Regions from separate parts of the Homo sapiens genome. Here all the other regions are linked to region 1. Evidence: promoter capture Hi-C in 16 types of primary human blood cells and fetal thymus (Javierre and others, 2016). All regions are on one chromosome and are shown on one strand. Each heading gives the region's core, a stretch centred on a gene start or on the middle of the fragment in contact. The rest is flanking DNA. Distances are from core to core; before and after follow the strand shown. Region 1 holds the start of TRIM58 (tripartite motif containing 58). Region 2 has its middle 11 kb from the start of OR6F1. Region 3 has its middle 6.9 kb from the start of OR13G1.

Region 1 (3,771 bases), core at 1,272-3,771:
GGTGGGGAGATTGTTTGAACCCAGGAGTTTGAGACCAGCCTGGGCAACAGGGCGAAACTCTGTCTCTACAAAAAATACAAAAATTAGCTGGGCGTGGTGGCGGGCACCTGTAGTCGCAGGTACTTGGGAGGCTGAGGTGAGAAGATCACTTGAGCCTGAAAGGTAGAGGCTACAGTGAGTCAGGTTGTGGCACTACACTATAGCCTGGGCAGCAGAGCAAGACCCTGTCTCAATATATATACGTGTGTGTGTGTGTGTGTGTGTGTGTGTGTGTGTATTTCCAACATGCCAGGACCTATATTAAGTGTCTACTATCTATTAGCTCGTTTAATACTCTGAAAGGCCTTATATGAATGACACTAACACCTCTTCACTGCACGTCAGAAGAAATGCAGGGCAGAAACGCGGCACAGCTTGCCTCAAGCTTCTCAGCAAGTGCCACAGCCCTTAGTCCGGAGCCAGAGTCTGTTTTTCTTTGCTAAGCCTTCTGCTCTTTAGCTTTTTTCTCTAATGCCACATCTTTCGTGTTTTGCTAATACAGATCCATGTGTGTTCTCCAAGAATCTATTCGCTTTAATTGCGCACTTAACCTTTAGGCCTCAAGATCCTCTGCTCTGCCTGTCGCCAGAGATCCAGCCCAAGAGTTTGTCCTTATAATGAAGACCCACAAACCCCAGAGGATCCCCAAGGACCTGAGTCATCTGGCCCCGCCTCTTGCTGCAGCCTTATCTGCTGCCACCATATTCTGGCCCAGCTTGCCAGCCTGCCTGGCTTCTCACTGTCATCTGGGTATGTCTTGCTCCCACCTGCTGAAGTTTACCTTGTACCTTTCATGGCTTCTGGGGGCACGGCCTTGCGGAGCCCCCCTTCCCGCTGGCCAGCTTGTGTTCACCTATCAGAGGTTTGCTCAGAGACCTCAGGTGTCTGCCCCCGACCCTGCAGCCTCATTCAGAGTCCTCTGTTATATTCCTGCAGGACTGGTGAGCGACCTTCCTTGCAGTTATTGGTTTGTAATTATATGTTTGCATGATTTCATATCCACCTCTTCTAGTTGATCTTAAGGCTCCTGGAGAAATGGGGTCCCACCTCTTTTCCTTAACATGTGTATTTTCAGTACCCGGTGCAATGTCTGAGACTCCTGGCTACAAACAGACACAATGTGTGCTCAGGGACAGATTGATTTGCCACAGGTACACCCCACCATCACTTCAAACTCGACCATACTAAAGTTATTTTGCACAGATGCAGACACTGCCTCAGACTTGTCGACTTTCTGGACGACATTAGAGACTTTAATGTACTTTATCCTGATTCAGCCTTCCACTGGATGAAGTAACATACTCTGTCAAATCATTTTGCTCCTGTCTCAGCCTCCCCCATCTGACAGGTACACCACTGAGAGGCTAAGCTTGAATTATTCCTCTGATGAGTATCTCTATAGCTTTGTCATCTCCAAGACTGGCTTTGCAACAATCCTACAACATGTGTGTATTCCTTGTAGGATCCTCATTGAACTAGGCCAGATATTTATTTAAATATTTAGAATTATTTTTGGCTGGGCTGTAAACCTATAGTTACACACACCTATGCAGGCATCTTCCCGTGTCAGGCGGTGTCTCATTTCTTTATCAAGAGGTAATTAGTGCAAGAGAAAAAAATGAAGTTTGAAAAAAACATTTAAAAATTGATTATGCCATATAAAGGGGGAAAGCCTTTTAAGAAACGATTATGGCATGAGAGGACCATGGAGTAGCTCAGTAACAATGGAAGGGGCTCGGAGGGTGGAAGGCGGGCGAGGGATGAGAGATCACCTAATGAGAACAATTTACGCTATCACAGCGATGCCTGCGCTAAAGCCTAGACTTTATGCAGTGTCTCCATGTAACAAAACTGCACTGGTACCCCAGAAATCTGCACTAAATCTATATAATGATGATGGAGGCTGGGCGCGGTGGCTCGCGCCTGTAATCCCAGCACTCTGGGAGGTCGAGGCGGGCAGATCACCTGAGGTCACGAGTTCAAGACCAGGCTGACCAAAATGGTGAAACCCCGTCTCTACTAAAAATACAAAAATTAGCCGGGCATGGTGGCGGGCGCCTGTAATCCCTGCTGCTTGCGAGGCTGAGGCAGGAGAATCGCTTGAACCCGGGAGGCGGAGGCTGCAGTGAGCCGAGATCGCGCCACCGCACTCCAGCCTGGGCGACAGAGCGAGACTCCCTCTCAAAAAAACAAAAACAAAAACAAACAAACAAAGATGGAAGGAAGGAGGGAATTTAGCAATTCTCCAGATCTACTGCCAGTGAAAATAGCATATGAGGAGGGATTCCAGTTAGAAATGCCCAGTTTCCTGGGTGTGTGTGTGACGGGGGCGGGGAACCACAACGTTAATTTTATCCCCGACATAGGGAGCGCCTGAGTGGTGGCTTTTCACCGGGTGTGGCTCGTCTGAGCTCTTGAACTGAAGCCAGCGGACACCACCCGTCGGCGCCTGCTTTCCTGGGGCGTGGGCTCCTCCCCCTGTGCAGACCGCGAGGGGAGACGGTGCGGGCGGCCGGGAGCGCAGCCCTCCGGGAGGCGGGTCATGGCCTGGGCGCCGCCCGGGGAGCGGCTGCGCGAGGATGCGCGGTGCCCGGTGTGCCTGGATTTCCTGCAGGAGCCGGTCAGCGTGGACTGCGGCCACAGCTTCTGCCTCAGGTGCATCTCCGAGTTCTGCGAGAAGTCGGACGGCGCGCAGGGCGGCGTCTACGCCTGTCCGCAGTGCCGGGGCCCCTTCCGGCCCTCGGGCTTTCGCCCCAACCGGCAGCTGGCGGGCCTGGTGGAGAGCGTGCGGCGGCTGGGGTTGGGCGCGGGGCCCGGGGCGCGGCGATGCGCGCGGCACGGCGAGGACCTGAGCCGCTTCTGCGAGGAGGACGAGGCGGCGCTGTGCTGGGTGTGCGACGCCGGCCCCGAGCACAGGACGCACCGCACGGCGCCGCTGCAGGAGGCCGCCGGCAGCTACCAGGTGAGGCGCCCCCCGGCGGGGGCTGCGGGCGCTGCGGTGACCGGGAAGCGGGCGACAGTCCGGAGCGGAGCCGCCGAGGCCACCCGTCTCCTGAGCGGCTCCCACGGCCGCTCCCCCCACCGCGCGCCGTCCCCCCCGCCCACGCGGCTCACTCAGTGTGGGTCTCTTTGCCTTGGCTGTGGTAACCCCCTTTGCGACACACACCCATTATTTTACACCGTCCGCCCCTCCCCCAAGCACTCTCCTGTCGTCGAACTCGCGCTGGGCTGGTTTCTCCCGATGCGGATAGTCTGGTCCCTCAGCTGGGCTCTGGTCGGGAGGGCTGTGTGGTCCAGTTCATTCTTGGTAACAATTGTACGTCTATATCGTAAACTTGCCATAATAATTCTCATTTGTGCAATGCTTTGCTTTTGCACAGTGTTTACATTAAATGAGTGTTGTCAGCAAAGCAACCCTCGGGTTTGGGCGTTGTTAAGAAGAGTGTCGAGCTGGGTACGGGTTCCGACCCCTCCAAAGCTCAGGTGCACGTGCCTCCTGAAGTAGGAGCGGGTGGCTCTCCATCAGCAGGGATTTGGGGACTTAGGATTCGAACATCCTCAATGAAGAGGTGCTTCATTTGGGGTGTAGCCCGGGAAGCTTCAAAGAGAAAGAAGAAAAACAAAATGGGAGTATTTGGTCCCCAGAGTGGCATCTGTGAAATTGTGTGTCGATTTCTTCCTACTGGTGCCCTTCAAAAGTTCTTGGATGTTTTCTGAACACACTTGAATCCC
Region 2 (3,814 bases), core at 588-3,087, 150 kb before region 1:
ATGGTGTGTATGTACCACATTTTCTTTATCCGGTCTATTTGTGATGGACATTTAGGTTGATTCCATGTCATTGCTATTGTGAATAGTGTTGCAATGAACATACGTGTGCATGTGTCTTTATATATTGTAATGATTTATTTTCTTTTTGGTAGATAGTAATGGAATTGCTGTTTTGAATATAATGACTAAATATAATTTAATTTTACCCTCACCATTGTACAAAAATTATGTGTGCATAGATTTAATTTTTAGATTGATTGTTATATTCCTTCAGTGCTGTATTTGTTGTACAAAGGCAATTTATTATGGTTAAACCTATTTTTTTCAAACTTCTATTTTCCCTGATGGGGCATCTATTGTTTTTCCACTGCCAGTAATTTATTACTGGAAGATAATTCTGAATAATATGTATTTTATCTACAAATGTATCATCGTAAGTTATAGGCTAAAGAAAGAAGAAAGAAAAGTGAATCAGAATTCTAGTAGTCAAGTATATTTGCTTGAAAATTAATTATGCAAATTATGCTTAAGTGGGGTGTGTTTTTAAATCAGTATAGAAAGAAAAGACCTGAGTCAATGAAAGCATTCTGTTCATTTCGATACTCCTTCACTTAACATTAAGTTTTAGATACAATTCCATATCAAAATGATTCATTCACTTGAAAAGCTGAAGACTACATTCTTCTTTTCAGTACTGAGGTGAGTAGCAGAAGTAGAGAGGTGTTGAAGATAACTCTTGTTGAGATAGATAGTAGGTGCTGCTTTTGGAGGTTTTGGAAATTGAGGCCTAACCTATGGAAACAGGAAGGCTATTCATCCTCAGAGGGTAGCAATCTGATTTTTATTAGGAATTTTGATTTTTAGAAATCTCCAAGAATATGTTTAGGAATGCCATGGATCTGAAACTAATCCTCAGAATGAATAAATGAAGGGAACAGATCAGGTACGCAGTGTTTTTTATGAGTACTGTATTAGGGTTCTCTAGAGAGACAGAACTAATAGGATATATATTAACATATATATACATGTATGGAGAGTTTACTAAGTATTAACTTACGTGATCACAAAGTTCCACAATCGGGTGTCTGCAAGCTGAAGAGCACGGAGAACCAGTCCGAGTCCCAAAACTGAAGAACTTGGAGTCCTATGTTGGAGGGCAGGAAGCATCCAGCCCAGGAGAAAGATGTAGGCTGGGAGGCTAGATCTTTCCTTTTCATGTTTTTCTGCCTGCTTTATATTCCCTGGCAGCTGATTAGATTGTGTCCACTACATTAAGGGTGGATCTGCCGTCCCCAGCCCACTGACTCAAATGTTAATCTCTTTTGGCAACACCCTCACAGACACACCCAGGAGCAATACCTTGTATCCTTCAATCCAATCAAATTGTTGCTCAGTATTAACCATCACAAGTCCACCCTTTGTCAACTTGAACCCATACACATCTCCTGAAATCATACCTAATCTTCAAATAAAGACAATAATAAGGTCATAATTATGCCTAACATAATACAACTATCCCTCATACAACTGGAAACACACCAATCCCCAACTCAAATACTATTACATAAAGTTAACAATATTTAAATGCTGATATGAAGTCAATAAATTTTATGTCACATGATAAAGGAAAAAAGAAATAAAATACAGATATTTTCTCAATACAAGTGTATACATGCACAAACATGTTTTTAACAAAAGAAGGAAGACATACTCATGACAATTACAGTCCCCATTTCTGCAGCTGGTCATGTGGTCACAGTTGGTACTGATGACTACCTTCTTCTATTACCCATTCTGTATTCCCTTTGCCCTCAGCAAGCACCTCAACACATCGTGGTTATTTTCCTGATGGAGTGACCCAAACTTTCATTCCTGAAGGGTCTGGGCCATTTGTAGTCCTGCCTGGATTGGGCTGTTGTAGTTTCCCATTGACATTAATCACAGGGCATGGTAATACTAAGAGATGCCCTCATGGATCTCCTGGTTTTCATGCATACTCTTCTTCACCTCCGTTGTGGAGTAGTAGACTGATTTCATCTTGATAGCCTGGGCCAATCACCCCAGCCAACACGGTAACTTCCTTCTTAGCCTGTTGACTTAAAGATAGGAGGAGCCCAAAGTGTCCAAGTGGCAATCTTAACTTCCAGTTTAATAGGATCATTGTTGTGTCTCCTGGTGGCAGCATTCCTCCCTCTGGAACAAAGACCTCTAGACAAGAAGAACGTAATATTGTGGGAACAGGAAGCAAAAATTTTGCTACTGGATCACTAGGAGTGATGGTGGGTGGTGCCACTTCCATTTCCACCCACTGAATCCTGGATCCGTGAATCCTGGCTATGGGAGAAACAGTACCATATATTGGACGCTGATTCAGAGCATACATGGCCTTCTGAAGAACTTTGCCCCAGCCGTGCAAAGTACTGTCACCTAGTTGGCATTGCAATTGTGACTTGAAAAGGCCATTCCCCCATTCTATCAATCCAGCTGCTTCAGGATGATGGGGAACATGGTAAGACCAGTGAATTCCATGAACATGAGCCACTGCTGCACTTCTTCAGCCATAAAGTGAGTGCCTTGGTCAGAGGCAACGCTATGTGGAATACCATGACAGTGGATAATACATTCTATGAGTTGATGGAAGGTAGTCTTGGCAGAAGCCTTGCATGAAGGATAGGCAAACTCCCATCCAGAGTAAGCGTCTATTCCAGTGAGCACAAATCTCTGCCCTTTCCAAGATGGAAGAGGTCCAATATAATCAACCTGCCACTGGGTAGCTGGCTGATCACCCTGAGGAATGGTGCCATATCGAGGTCTCAGTGATGGTCTCTGCTGCTAGCAAGTTGGGCACTCAGCAGTGGCCGTAACAAGGTCAGCCTTGGTGAGTGGAAGTCCATGTTGCTGAGCCCATGTGTAACCTCCATCCCTGCCACCATGGCCACTTTGTCCATGGGCCAAAGACGTGGGCGATGACAGAGGTGGCTGGGGAAAGAGGCTGTGTGGTGTCCATGGAATGGGTCATTCTGTCCACTTTATTATTAAAATCTTCCTCTGCTGAGGTCAACCATTGCTGAGAACTTACATGGGGTACAAATATCTTCACAGTTTTTGTCCACTCAGAGAGGTCCACCCACATGCCTCCTCCCCAGATTTCTTTGTCACCAATTTTCCAATCATGCTTCTTCCAAGTCCCTGATCATCCAGCCATACCATTGGCTACAGCCCATGAATCAGTACATAATCACACATCTGGCCATTTCTCCTTCCATGCAAGGTGCACAACCAGGTGCACTGCTTGAAGTTCTGCCCACTGGGAAGATTTCCTTTCACCGCTGTCCTTCAGGGATGTCCTAGAAAGGAGCTGTAGTGCTGCAGCTGTCCACTTTCTGGTGGTGCCTACATATCATGCAGAACCATCGGTAAACCAGGCCCTAGTCCTCTCTTCCTCTGTCAGCTTATCATAGGGAACTCCTGATGAGGCCATCGGTGCAGGCTTTGGGGAGAGAAGGCAGGTGGCAGGAGTGGAGACTATGGGCATTTGAGCCATTTCCTCATGTAACTTGTGCCTTCAGGATCTGCTGGAGCCTGATCCCATATATACTACTTCCAGTTGATGATGGAATGCTGCTGTGCACAACCCACTTTATGGCTGGATGGGTCAGAAAGCACCCAGTTCATGATAGGCAGTTCAGGTCGCATGTTGACTTGATGACTTATAGTCAATTTTTCAGTTTCCACCAAAGCCCAGTAACAGGCCAAGAGCTGTCTCTCAAAAGGAGAGTAGTTATCTGCAGAAGATGGCAGGGCCTTGCTCCAA
Region 3 (3,790 bases), core at 720-3,219, 170 kb before region 1:
CTTTCCCCATTGTGTGTTGTTGACATATTTGTCAAAAATCAATTGGCTATAAATACATGTATTTATTGCTGGGCTCTCTATTCTGCCCCATTGATCTGTTTGTTTTTATGTCAGTAAGTTGTTGTTTGGATGACTATAGCTTTGTAGGAGATATCAGAGTAATACTGACCTTGCAAAATGAGTTTAAAGTAATTTCTTTCTATTCCAATTTTGTAATTGTTTGAGAATAATTGTTACTAATGTTTTCCTTAAATGTTTGATAGAATTCAGCATTGAAGCCATTTGATCTTGACATTCTTTTTTTGATGGGAGATTTTTACCACTGATTCAACGTCCTTATTCACTATTGGTGTGCTCAGATTTTTTTTTTTTTTAATAATACCGTTGTGGTAGGTTTTATGTGTTTAATAATTTGTTCATTTCCTGTAGGTGTTCCAATTAGTTGACTTATAATAGTTAATGACAGTATTTTATGATCCTTCATATTTCTGTGGCATCAGTTGTGTAAGGTCTTTTTTAATCTTTTATTTTATTGAGTCTTGTCTTTTGTTTCTAAGTTATTTTGTCTATTTTTTCAAAAAAATTATTTTTTTCATTGCTCTTTTGTAACGTTTTGTCTCTATTTTGCTTATTTCTGCCCTAACCTTTATTGTTTCTTTTCTTTTAATAATTTTCAATGAAGTTTGTTCTTATTTTTCTATTTACTTGTGGTGCAATATTAGGTTGTTTACTTAAGATCTTACTTTTTTGATGCAGGTGTTTATTGGCATAAATTGAATTTTGAGAACTGATTTTCCTACATCCCAAGATTTTGATATGTTGTATTTTTTTATTTGTCTCAAAAATGTTTTTAATTTGCCTTTTAATTTCATCATTTACCGATTGGTTGTTCAGAAGCATTTTGTTCAGTTTCCATGTATTAGTAAACTTTCCAAAGTTCCTCCTCTTGTTGATTCATAGTTTTATATAATAAAATACACTATAAATTTTAATCTTGTTAAATCTGTTAAGACTTGTTACGTGGCTTGATGTATGATCTATTCTAGGGAATGTTCCATGTGCAATTGAGAAGCATGTGTATTCTGCAGCTGTTGGATGGAATGTTCTGTAAACATCTGCTAGGTCCATTTGGTCTAGAGTGCAGTTTAGTTCTGGTAGATTTTACGTATCTAGGAATTTCTTCATTTCTCCTAGCTTATCCAATTTGTTGGTGTTTTCTTGTTCGTAAGTGTCTCTTATGTCCTCTGTATTTCTCTGGTATCAGTAGTAATGTCTCATTTCTATTTCTATGTCTCATTTTTATTTCTATTTTATTTGAGTCTTTCATGAGGCTGTTTGTCAATTTGTTTATCTTTTAAAAACAATAACTCTTAATTTTGTTGCTCTTTTCCATTTTTTGTCTCTTTTATTTAAATCTGCTCTGAATCTTATTTCTCTCTCTCTCTCTCTTTTTTTTCTCTAACTCTAGGCCTAATGTGTTATTTTTTCCAGTTCTTTGAAGTGTAATTTTATGTCTTTTTTTATTTGGGAGCCTCTTTCTTTTTAGATGTAGGCTTTTTTTTTGCTATAAACTTTTGTCTTATTACTGCATTTTTAAATCCCATACATTTTGGTATCTTGTATACTCATTTTGTTTGTCTCAAGATATTTTTAATATCCCTTTTATTTTCTATTTGAACCGCTGGTTGTTTCAAAACATGGTGTTGAATTTCCATATATTTGTGAATTTTCTGATATTTATTCTCTTCCTGATTTCTAGTTTTATATTGTGTACTCATGAGAAATGCTTGATAGTATTTCAGTCTTTTAAAATGCTAAGGCTTGTGTTGTGGCTAAACACATGATATGTCCTGTAAAGGGTTTCATGTGTGCTTGAGAATAATGTGTATTCTTCTGCTATTGAATACATAATATACATTCTGTATAAGTGTGTTATAATTTAATCTAAATTGTAGTTCATGTCCAATGTTTTCTTATTGATTTTCTTGGTGGATAATGTATCCATTGTTAAAAGGGAGTAGAGAAGTCCCCTGCTCTTATTATATGGCAGTTTATCTATTTCTTTATATGTACTAATATTTGCAGATCTGATAATATTAATATTTTACCAGAAGGTGGGAAGGGAGGAGAGGTGAAGAGAAGTTGCTTACTGGGTACAAAAATACAGTTAGATAGAATATATTCTACTGTTTGTAGCACAGTATGGTGACTGTAGTTAGCAAAAATTAATTGTATATTTCAAAATAGCTAGAAGTGAAGATTTAAATGTTTCCAACAAGGGAAATGATCAATCTTTGAGGTGATGGATATTCTAATTACCCTGATTTGATAATCACACATTGTATGCATGTATCACAGTGCCAATATGAACCCTATAAATATGTACAGTTACAGTTATACTTTGATAAAGATACTGCAAAAGTTAAAAAATGAAAAGAAAGATCGAGGAGGAGCCAAGATGGCCGAATAGGAACAGCTCCGGTCTACAGCTCCCAGCGTGAGCGACGCAGAAGACGGGTGATTTCTGCATTTCCATCTGAGGTACCGGGTTCATCTCAATAGGGAGTGCCAGACAGTGGGCGCAGGCCAGTGTGTGTGCGCACCGTGCGCAAGCCGAAGCAGGGCGAGGCATTGCCTCACCTGGGAAGTGCAAGGGGTCAGGGAGTTCCCTTTCCGAGTCAAAGAAAGGGGTGACGGACGTACCTGGAAAATCGGGTCACTCCCACCCGAATATTGCGCTTTTCAGACTGGCTTAAGAAACGGCGCACCACGAGACTATATCCCACACCTGGCTCAGAGGGTCCTACGCCCACGGAATCTCGCTGATTGCTAGCACAGCAGTCTGAGATCAAACTGCAAGGCGGCAACGAGGCTGGGGGAGGGGCGCCCGCCATTGCCCAGGCTTGCTTAGGTAAACAAAGCAGCCGGGAAGCTCGAACTGGGTGGAGCCCACCACAGCTCAAGGAGGCCTGCCTGCCTCTGTAGGCTCCACCTCTGGGGGCAGGGCACAGACAAACAAAAAGACAGCAGTAACCTCTGCAGACTTAAGTGTCCCTGTCTGACAGCTTTGAAGAGAGCAGTGGTTCTCCCAGCACGCAGCTGGAGATCTGAGAACGGGCAGACTGCCTCCTCAAGTGGGTCCCTGACCCCTGACCCCCGAGCAGCCTAACTGGGAGGCACCCCCCAGCAGGGGCACACTGACACCTCACACGGCAGGGTATTCCAACAGACCTGCAGCTGAGGGTCCTGTCTGTTAGAAGGAAAACTAACAACCAGAAAGGACATCTACACCGAAAACCCATCTGTACATCACCATCATCAAAGACCAAAAGTAGATAAAACCACAAAGATGGGGAAAAAACAGAACAGAAAAACTGGAAACTCTAAAATGCAGAGCGCCTCTCCTCCTCCAAAGGAACGCAGTTCCTCACTAGCAACAGAACAAAGCTGGATGGAGAATGATTTTGACGAGCTGAGAGAAGAAGGCTTCAGACGATCAAATTACTCTGAGCTACGGGAGGACATTCAAACCAAAGGCAAAGAAGTTGAAAACTTTGAAAAAAATTTAGAAGAATGTATAACTAGAATAACCAATACAGAGAAGTGCTTAAAGGAGCTGATGGAGCTGAAAACCAAGGCTCGAGAACTACGTGAAGAATGCAGAAGCCTCAGGAGCCGATGCGATCAACTGGAAGAAAGGGTATCAGCAATGGAAGATGAAATGAATGAAATGAAGCGAGAAGGGAAGGTTAGAGAAAAAAGAATAAAAAGAAATGAGCAAAGCCTCCAA

The links. The method cuts DNA at HindIII sites, captures the fragments that hold promoters and counts their contacts. A CHiCAGO score of 5 or more calls a contact.
Region 2: a fragment that was not itself captured here is called in contact with the fragment with the promoter of TRIM58 in region 1 in 1 of 17 cell types (megakaryocytes); the score reaches 6.3 in megakaryocytes.
Region 3: a contact is called between a fragment that was not itself captured here and the fragment with the promoter of TRIM58 in region 1, in 1 of 17 cell types (megakaryocytes). The highest score is 11.0, in megakaryocytes.

What each region holds. Positions count from the first base shown.
Region 1 is chr1:247,854,666-247,858,436 of GRCh38, forward strand. TRIM58 (tripartite motif containing 58) reads left to right here and starts at 2,522. Exons shown (of 6, transcript NM_015431.4): 1 at 2,522-3,001. The coding sequence starts at 2,582. RefSeq lists a cis regulatory region at 435-999. The HindIII fragment of the contact is 2,229 bases long and covers 1,407-3,635 here.
Region 2 is chr1:247,704,055-247,707,868 of GRCh38, forward strand. No RefSeq gene overlaps it. Among named protein-coding and RNA genes, the nearest start is that of OR6F1, 11 kb to the right of the region's middle. The HindIII fragment of the contact is 5,591 bases long and covers 1-3,814 here.
Region 3 is chr1:247,684,730-247,688,519 of GRCh38, forward strand. No RefSeq gene overlaps it. Among named protein-coding and RNA genes, the nearest start is that of OR13G1, 6.9 kb to the left of the region's middle. RefSeq lists an enhancer at 2,762-3,363. The HindIII fragment of the contact is 4,475 bases long and covers 1-3,790 here.